Regions from separate parts of the Homo sapiens genome. Here region 2 is linked to region 1. Evidence: promoter capture Hi-C in 16 types of primary human blood cells and fetal thymus (Javierre and others, 2016). All regions are on one chromosome and are shown on one strand. The core of a region is centred on a gene start or on the middle of the fragment in contact, and the rest is flanking DNA. Distances in the headings are between cores, read along the strand shown.

Region 1 (5,026 bases), core at 1,128-3,627:
ACTTACATTCTACAACACTGACTTTATTCTGCTGGACAGAGAATACCTTTATGTCACTTGCATGTGACAATGTACTATGCGCTAAAAGTAATGTTTCAAGTAACTTTATACCAGGAAAGGGAGATCGAAGTACAAAAAATAATAATAAAGTAATTTTAGACAACTAAATTTCGGTCAAGGTATAACAAGTTCGACAAGTAGAGTTCATGAACAGCCAATTAATAGGAATGTTGTAGGAGAGAACTTGAGATTAAATGGATTTGGAAAGAGAGGCTATCCAGTTATAGGACAAATTCAAACAGGTTGAAAAAATTCTGTGAAGACAAATAAATTTCAAACGGTACTGCATAAACCATTCTAGTAATTAATAATTAGGAATGACAGGGCCTTTCCGAACAAAGATATACCGGCAGGCCAAAGCAGCACGCCGAAAAGCAGAGCAAACAGGGCGGTGAACCCAGAAAGTTTGTTTACTAAGCAGAGAGGATCCTCAGTCATGCACTGTAACTGTGACAGCAGTGTCCACCATAAAGTCTTCTCCAACTCTAATACAAAGGATAATACAGATAATAATGTCAAATTACCTGTTTAGAAACTAGTTTTTGCAGCTCAGAAACTGCTCCTTTCCCGCTCCACACTTCAAAGCTGTTTCCTAATTAGGATTAAAAATATGTATCACTTAAGTAAATTACTTACGCTATGAAATACAGAATAAAAAATACTTCAGTTTTGGTCTAAAGTATGTTTAGAAAGATCAAAAGAAGGGGAAAAATATAACTTATTCATATTTTAAATTTAAGTTACCTCAATTCTTTTGGAAAATAGTGTGATATGCATAAATGCTTAAATCCCCTAAACTTCTGAAATCTTACCAAACAGCAAAGTGATATCTATTTCGGAACAGTGTAACAAAGATGGTTAGCCCTAACTATCCTTTAATAGTCTATGCCAAAGTTTACTCCTCTGATTGATCGAGCTTCCTGTTACTCAAACTATGTAACAACCTCGTATATCCGATGATTTTAAAAATGTTTGCTCATTTAAAAGCTACTGTACTTCATAATAAAATAACCTCGTCACTACATAAATACCAGGTTTACCTTCAATTCAAAAACTCTGTATTATATTGGTGTTCAGGGGTCCTCACCAGGAAGGTGCTAGGGAAAGAAAGGAGCAGGTGCACCCGAGGCTCTGCAACACCCACTCCGGTAACCAGAGAACACCAGCAGGCGGAGTCTGGAAAGCGGTTATGGGGCGGGGGTGGTAGGGGCGCCCAGAAAGCCCGCTCCTTCCAGCGCCCAAACACGAACCGTCACCCGTAAGACACACAATACAGACCTCAACTCGCTCAAAAAAACAAAACAAAACAAAAAAAATTAAACCAGGCGAGTTCCTGGGGAGTAGGCTGAGGGATGCAAAGTTGGCGCGCCCAGCCTCCCTGGCGGGGCCTAATCCCCAAACGCCAGTTTCTGTAAACCAAACAACGTTTCCCCCAGTCCCACTTGGCATTTAGTCTTTCCCGGTTCTAGGCCCAATTCTAACTAGATAGGTAGGAAGGGAGAAAGAAGGGGCAATAATTACTCCATTAACCTTCCCAGGAACGCCTCCCCCGGCCCATCGGCTCCCACAGCACCAGAGACGGCGGAAATCCTGCAGCTCACAGCCCAACTGCAACTCTTCAGAGTCGCGTCGCTCCTCATCCGCCCTTCTACACCCCAAACTCTGGACACCGAGAGTTCCACAGAGGGAACGCGGGGAAGAACTATGGCCACCAAGGCCTGTTTCTCTAAGAACTCGACCCAGTGCCCCTAGCACCCAAACCAGAGTCCCCGCTCCGCTTCCTCCGCCCGCAAGGGGTATAGCCGGAGCCACCGGGACGCAGAACAGCCTCCCCGACAGGGCCAGCAGGAGGGGCGAGGAGGCAAGAAGGGAGTCCTGCAATCACCAACGCGTCGCGAGGTGCTCACCCGGGGATCCCGGCGATCAGTCCTGAGGGAGCGGGCGGACTGACCGCCTAGGGCACGGGAAGCCCGGGGCAGGAAGACCCGGGAACCTACAGAGGAGGCGTGGGCCCGTGGCCAGACCCAACAGGGCCGAGTGTCCCGGAGCCGTTACTCTCCCGCCTCTGGGGCGCGCCGCCCTAGGTTGCCAAGGGCTGGGGACGCGCAGGCATTACCTCTACAAGAAGCAGCCTCTCCTGTCAAAGGCAGAGCGACAGTCAGCCCCCACGACCCGCCGCCGGCAGCGGTCGGCCCTCGGAGACCGCAGCAGAGAGGCCCACACGTTTCCTGGCTGCCTCGGCCCCAGTGGCCGCCTTTTCGACCTCAGCTACGCAGCGCCAACCGCCGCAGCCACCGCCATCTTAGGATCTCATTGTGGTGGGAGAAGAGGGGCGGGGGTACTGCAGAGGGGGCAACGCGCGGCGGGACATGCGCCGTCTCCTCGGCAACGGCCGCGCGGGGGCGAGAACTCGCCCGGGCGGGAGCCGCAATGCGAGCTAGACTGGAGTCATGTGACCCGCCGGAGTCTGTGGTGTCGCTTCTGGCTCTTTAAGCCGAAAAGAGATTACACCAACGAATCCGCCCCCACCCGCCCAGGAACTATGTATCCCAGAATGCCAACTAGACCTCGCGTTCTAAACGCCTGCCGGCCACAGGTGGAGGACTACAAATCCCAGCATGCCGTGCGCTTCCGGCGCTGATCGCGGAGCGTGGGGCCCTAGGCCTATGCGGAAGTGCATTGATCCCTCAGCCCGTGGAGAAAGAGCGGAGGCGCTGTGCGGTTTTCCGTGGGGGTGTCAGCTCCGGCCCGTGCCGGAAGAAGGAGCCAAGACCGGGATCGCTTTTTTGCCCCTTCCTCACCCCACATTCGGTCACGAAGAGGTGGAAACAAAAGGACACTTACAATGTAGTCCAACCTCCTGATTTTACATATGAGGGGATTGTTCCACGGAAGTTAAACAATTTGCCAGACGTCATTATGTATCTACTGAGTGAGAGAATCATAAATATTGTTGATAGTTAACGCCACTTTTGGTTAATGTCCCTTTTCCTTAAAAGAGCCAGATGATTTTAATCCAAACTTAATTTCAGTAAATTTTCTCTGAACTATCTTTTTATTTATACTCTCCTGTTACAGCTCTATTAAGATTAATAAATTGGCAGGTCCTCCCTTTAAAAAACAAAAATCAATAAAGTCACAAGGCCTTCAATGTGCCTGACTGGAAAGGTAAAACACCTGTCAGTTTTAGTTGAGTGCAAGGGCATTCTTCTAGTTTTACGCAGTTTATAATTATGGAATAACTTTTTAAGCAAAATAAAGGTAAAAAGAAGAATTGCATTCTGGGTTTCAACAACAAAAACAAATTGTTCCCAAAATAGTAGGTCTGCATCTCAGTACGCAATTCACATAAAGCTCTTCTATCCCACTGCAATCTGCCACCGTAGGTTCAGTCGTGAGTGCATTGATCGTTGGTCAGACACTTTTTCCTCATATTCTGTGTGTGTATCGCTAACTACTGCGGTAGCAAAAATATAGTCCCTGCCCTTGAAGAGCTCATATTTTAGTGAAGGATGCGGAAGTGGAGTGTGATGTAAATAAAGTTTGTGTTGTAAGAAAAAGTGCTGTGGGAGCTCAGAACACAGCAGCTAAACGCTCAGGTGTTTATTGTAGTCCAGAATGCCCTATCCTAATTCCACCACTCCAAGATCCTGGACAAGCGACGTGCCTTTCTGAGCCTTAATTGCCCCATCTATGAAATGAGGGGGAAGGAATGATACTGCCTACCTTGAAAGGATTTTTTAAAAAATGTTCTCAGAGTTTGTTTTATGCCAGGCACACTGTAAAGCACTTCGGCTGTTGTGATTTTCTTGATCCTCACAGTTACCCTGAAGAGGCTGGTTCTGAATCTGACCCGTTTTGGCAATGAAAGATTATATAAATCAAACTTGTAGCAGCTGCAAGTGGTAGAGCCTAAATTTAAACGGAGGTCTATGTGATTCCTTTAAGATTTTTTTTAATTAAATACAACGCATATAAAAACACTAGTATATGTTGAGGCCCGAAATATTAGCTATCATCATTATTTTGCTTTATACATATGTATTATTATTAAACGTATGTAGAAGCTGTTATCATTAAAACAATTCTAATAAATTCAAAAGCGTGAAATTATAATACGTACTAGTCATTATGTTTTCTGAATTTATGAAGCTCCAGAATGTCAATACTATTGTTTATTAGGAGGTAGGAGGAATTTGAGAAATATTTACATTGAAATGTAGAAGCTGTTATCATTAAAACAATTCTAATAAATTCAAAAGCATGAAATTATAATATCTACTAGTCATGATGTTTTCTGAATTTATGAAGCCCCAGAATGTCAATACTATTGTTTGTTGGGAGGTAAGAGGAATTTGAGAAATATTTACATTGAAAAGGGGATCTCAAACTCAAATATGAGCATTACTGATCTTTGTAAGGGAAGAAGGAAAGAAAAAAAACAAGAAGCGATAAAATTATACCTGGCTTTCAGAAATTTAACATCTATTTTTAGAAACAAACTTTATCAGAATGAATCGACTTAGTGTTAATAGTCCGTCACTATGCCAAACAAATGATGTAGACACTGATTGCTGTGGTAATTTAGATTTTTAAAATAGGGATGTTTTGTCTCAGAGATAATGATAGCTCTAGGATTTATAGGTAGGATGAAATTAGGGGCAGCAGTCTGTGGAAATGTAGATAGGAAACAGAAGAATGGCCTCTAAGAGATAAACATTGAAACTGCCTTTCAGTTTTCCACATTCAAGAGAACAACCTAACACATGTATTAAATATGCAGGGGGTGGAAGTTCCAAATTGCAGAATGATGTTCAAGGAAGTGGGATATACCAAGAACACAGATCACACATCCAGAGTAAGCAATGGACAAAAAACAGACTGGCTGAAGTAGAGGATTTATATATGGTAAGTGATGGGGAGGTGGGAGAAGGCAAGGTTTATTACCAGGTTGGGGCCAAACTAT
Region 2 (5,026 bases), core at 1,092-3,591, 8.5 Mb before region 1:
AAGCGACCGGACGGGGCAGGGGCGCTCCCCTGCGGGCCCCGGACGTGGAGACGCTCGAGTCAGGCTGACGCGCGCGCCGGGAACGAACTCTTGCGTGTGACTTGGGATGACCGGATGGGATGAGTGATGCCAGTGGCAGTGGGAGAGAGGATGAGGAGAAACGGAATGAGGAAGTGCGCTCCTGTGTTCGCGCCCGTGCCTCCTCTCACACAGGCTCCACAGTGCTTCACCCAGCCCTGCGCACGCATCTGTTTTCTACCTCTTAGGACTCACTTCTGCAATAGGTGTCTTGGGGACACAAAGGAATCCCCAAACCCAGGTGCCTCCACGTGTAAACTCCAAATAAAGCTGCTGAAACATCAACACTCCATACGGGAAACAAGGGAAGGCCGCCCCCAAATTTAATTGTTACAGAATTTTTAAAATGTCGATTACAAACACACCATCATTCTGAAAAAAAGAGAAAGAAGAAAGGGGAAGAAAGAAAAAAGAAAAATTCAGGAAAACAGAGAGAAGAAAGTACTCACCCAAATCCCATCGACTAATCGATTTCTGGGACATGACGTGGGAAGCCGTTTATCCTGTACGTGGATGACATTAAACTATGTTCCTGAGCACACCTCCTACTTCACATCTCCATGTCTTCGTCCAGTCTCCTTGGTCTGATTTATGAGTGACATATGTTTCTCGCAGTCTCTAACTTGTCTTTTAATTTGTTTTTTTCACTCTGTAGAAGCTTAAGGTTTTCATGTAATCAGATTTATCATTCTTACATGGCTTGGGGAGACAGTCACACCAAGATTACTAATCTATAATTCCCTTATAACTTTTTCTAATTTTCTTATAGGCTTAACTTTACATTTAGAGCTCTAATCCATCTGAAATTTATTTTCCATATGCTGTAAATTATTTAACTTCAATTCTTCCCAATTTTGTAGCCCATTGACCTAATAATATTAATTTTAAGCCATCCTTTCTACACTGATTTGAAATTGCACCTTTGTCACTCTCTGAATGACCACAAAAATGTGAGTCTGTTTCAGGGCTATCTGCAATACCTCTGTTAGATAACTATTAAAGTTTCTCTTCCTTTGTCTTTTTCAGATGTTAATGGCTAGTTACTCTTCAGATGAACTTAAAAATGGACTTGTCCAAGATTGACCTTGTGTTGGTAATTATTGAAGCTATGTAATACATTAAAGTATTCCTCTAATTTTTTAATATATTTGAAAAAGTCCATGCTAAAAGGTTTTTTTTAAGGATTGATTTGTCAAATCCCTTTGCAAATTCTTTTAAGATTTTGGTCAGAAATGAACTCTATTAATAGATTGAGTGCTGTTTCCGGTCATACCCGGAAGCAGGAGTTCAAGCCGCAGCTGGTAGGGATTGGCGGCTGCTGGCCATCTGAGTTTTATTAAAACTGCTCGCCGCGAAGCCAGTCTTCAGCCAGAATGTCCAGCAGAAACAACAACAAGCTGCCCAGCAACCTGACTGCAGTTACAGAATCTGATGAAGCGAGACCCACCACCCTCCATCTAGGAGTTTCTACAGCAGTATAATCACTACACATCCAATGTGGAGATTTTCAAATTGCAACCATATAAACCCGGTAAAGAACTAGCAGAGCTGGTGGTGTTTATGGCACAGAACGTCCTAAATATGTGCATCTGAATAATAGGAGAGAAAGAGAGAAACTTCAGAAGAGCCTTTGCTTTGTTATAGATTAGTTACTGCTACCCAGGGTATCTAAGTAATTTTCCTCAAGTGGTGAAAGATCTTCTGTCCTGTAATCATACTGTATTGGATCCAGATCTTCGAATGACATTTTGCAAAGCTTTGATCTTGCTGAGAAATAAGAATCTCATCAATCCATCAAGCCTGCTAGAACTCTTCTTTGAACTTCTCTGTTGCCATGATAAGCTTCTGCAAAAGACTTCATACACATATATCGTGACTGATATCAAGAATATAAATGCAAAACACAAGAATAAAGTGGATGTAGTATTGTAAAATTTCATGTATACCATGTTGAGAGATAGCAATGCAACTGCAGCCAAGATGTCTTTAGATGTTATGATTGAACTCTACAGAAGGAACATCTGGAATGATACCAAAACTGTCAATGTTATCACAACTGCATGTTTCTCTTAGGTCACCAAGATATTAGTTGCTGCTTTGACATTCTTTCTTGGAAAAGATGAAGATGAAAAACAGGCCAGTGACTCCGAATCTGAGGATGACGGACCAACAGCAAGAGACCTGCTAGCACAGTATGCTACAGGGAACAAAGTTCCCAAAACAAGAAAAAGTTGGAAAAGGCAATGAAAGTGCTCAAGAAACAAAAGAAGAAGAAAAAACCAGAGGTGTTTAACTTTTTAGCCGTTCACTTGATTCATGATCCCCAAGATTTTGCAGAAAAACTACTAAAGCAGCTTGAGTGCTGTAAGGAGAGGTTGGAAGTGAAGATGATGCTCATGAACCTCATCTCAGATTGGTGGGAATTCATAAGCTCTTCCTCTTCAATTTCTATCACTTTTTGCGAAGGTTTCTGCAGCCCCACCAAAGAGAAGTAACAAAGAACCTTCTGTTTGCTGCACAAGCATCTCATCACCTAGTACACCCAGCGATTATTCAATCATTGCTTATGACTGTGGCCAACAATTTTGTTAACGACAAGAACTCTGGAGAAGCCATGACAATAGGAATCAATGCTGTAAAAGAGACAACAGCTCAGTGTCCTCTGGCCATGACTGAAAAGCTTCTCCAAGACCTGGCTCAGTATAAAACACACAAGGATAATAATGTAATGATGTCTGCTAGAACTTTGATTCGGCTCTTCCGAACACTGAATCCTCAGATGCTGCAGAAGAAATTCTGGGGTAAGCCTACAGAAGCCTCCATAGAAGCAAGAGTACAAGAATATGGAGAATTAGATGCTAAAGGTTACATTCCAGGAGCAGAAGTTCTGGAAGTTGAGAAAGAGGAGAGTGCTGAAAATGATGAAGATGGATGGGAAAGTACCAGTCTCAGTGAGGAGGAGGATGCCGATGGCGAATGGGTTGATGTGCAACACTCTTCCAATGAAGAACAGCAAGAAATTTCCAAGAAGCTGAACACCATGCCCATGGAGGAGCAGAAAGCCAAAACTGCAGCCGTCAGCACCAGTCGAGTTTTAAGTTAGGAAGACTTCCAGAAAATCCGCATGGCGCAAATGAGAAAAGAACTTGACGCTGTCCCCGGGAAATCCCAGAAGAGGAAATATATTGAAATCGACAGTGATGAAGAGCCGAGGGGTGAATTACTTTCTCTTCCGGACATTGAACGCCTTCATAAAAAGCCAAAATCTGACAAAGAGACAAGACTAGCAACTGCAATGGCTGGAAAGACAGACCGAAAAGAATTTGTGAGGAAGAAAACCAAAGTGAATCCATTTTCCAGTTCAAAAAGTAAAGAGAAGAAAAAACAGAAGAACTTTATGATGATGTGGTATAGCCAGAATGTCTGGTCAGAAAATAAGCGTTCCTTCTGAGAAAAACAGTTGGCGCTGCGAGATGCCTTTTGAAAAGAGAAAAAGAATGAAGTAACTTCCCAGAAAGTTTTCCATTCCAAGAAGAATGCTAAGTTTGTGTCATTACTCTGAAAATTGGTAAATCAAGCATGTTTGTTTACATTAAAAAGTCCAGAAGCACTATATTATGAAAACTGCTGAAAATGTGGCAGCAATTTGGTGTTTTTATTTTGGGGACAGCTAATGATGGGAAATGTTAATGTAAATAGTGGTGGTAGTGTAATATCATTTATCATTCATGCAAAAAAAAGTATTGAGTGCCTATTAATTGTCACTGTAGATACAAAATGACTGAGTTGTAACTACCCCTTCACTCAAGGCATTGACAGCTTAGTTGTGGGGGTGGACACAGACGTGTATTTACAGTGCAGTGTAAATAGTTCTCTAGTAGAGGTAGGTCCACATTTCTATGCAGACACTGAGGCCTTATGGACTAACTCTGTGGGGATGGGGGTTATATATTCCTGTAAAACAAAGCAAAACAGGACAATTGTAACAAGAGTAAGAGGTTCTTTCTTGCATATAATAGGCTTACCTGCTGAAAACAGGCCCCTGCTGTACAGATTTTGGGTACATAATTTAGCTCTTTTAGTCAATCCAAAAGATTTAAATGACCCCCGCTTTTTTTTTTTAATGCCATGTAAAGGCTTTTTGGTTAAGACCTCACTTTTAAAATTGCCTTAAGTGTAAATAGTACCTTTGGAATGTATTTAGTTCATCATTTGAGATGCCTTCATACTGGTTTCCTCAACCTTCCTTCACCCTGTATTATTTTCAGCCCACCGTTTGTCTCAATAAAAGGTTTCTAATGCCAAATGATAAAAAAGAAATTGAGGGGATTATTGACATATTTATAGAATTGTTTTCCCAGTCAGGACTACGAGATCCCACTTTGTTCTATTTTCCTTTTAGGTGCTCCTTTCAAAAGGTTTTAAACTTTCAAAAAAAAGTTTTTTATTAATCATGTGCTATTTTATTTTTATTTTTTTGAGACAAGGTCTCATGCTATCACCCAGGCTGGAGTGCAGTGGTACAATCACAGCTCACTGCAGCCTCAGCCTCCCGGGCTCAAGTGATCATCCCACCTCAGCTTTCCCAGTAGGTGGAACTACAGGTGCCTGCAATCATGTCCAGCTATTTTTTTGTGTTTTTTGTAGAGACAGAGTTTTCCTGTGTTGCTCAGGCAAGTCCTGAACTCCTGGTCTTATGGGATCCCCCTGCTTCAGCCTCCCAAACTGCTGGGATTACAGGCATGAGCCACTTTGCCCAGCTTACTATACTCATTTTATTGAAAATAATTAGAAAGTTTCCTTTTCTCTGGTCTTACATAGATGACATTGAAATTACTTTCTTTAAGGAGATGTTATAATTCCCTATGGAAACATTGGGGCCTGATGCTTTTAGGAAGGTCATCTCTGTTTCTATAGGATGTTACTTTTATTTCTTATTTTATGTTGT

The links. The method cuts DNA at HindIII sites, captures the fragments that hold promoters and counts their contacts. A CHiCAGO score of 5 or more calls a contact.
Region 2: a contact is called between a fragment that was not itself captured here and the fragment with the promoter of PCM1 in region 1, in 1 of 17 cell types (total CD8 T cells). The highest score is 5.6, in total CD8 T cells.

The regions. Positions count from the first base shown.
Region 1 is chr8:17,920,339-17,925,364 of GRCh38, reverse strand. It overlaps PCM1 (pericentriolar material 1), which reads right to left and starts at 2,377. Exons shown (of 39, transcript NM_006197.4): 1 at 2,177-2,377; 2 at 585-652. It overlaps LOC124901867, which reads left to right and starts at 378. Exons shown (of 4, transcript XM_047422505.1): 1 at 378-451; 2 at 1,138-1,208; 3 at 1,599-1,856; 4 at 2,019-4,337. The coding sequence starts at 378. The coding sequence ends at 2,701. RefSeq lists enhancers at 1,350-1,409, 2,560-3,009 and silencers at 1,871-2,165, 4,891-5,026. The HindIII fragment of the contact is 6,694 bases long and covers 1-5,026 here.
Region 2 is chr8:26,377,945-26,382,970 of GRCh38, reverse strand. It overlaps the pseudogene SDAD1P1. Among named protein-coding and RNA genes, the nearest start is that of BNIP3L, 2.6 kb to the left of the region's middle. RefSeq lists enhancers at 1-267, 241-1,440. The HindIII fragment of the contact is 838 bases long and covers 1,923-2,760 here.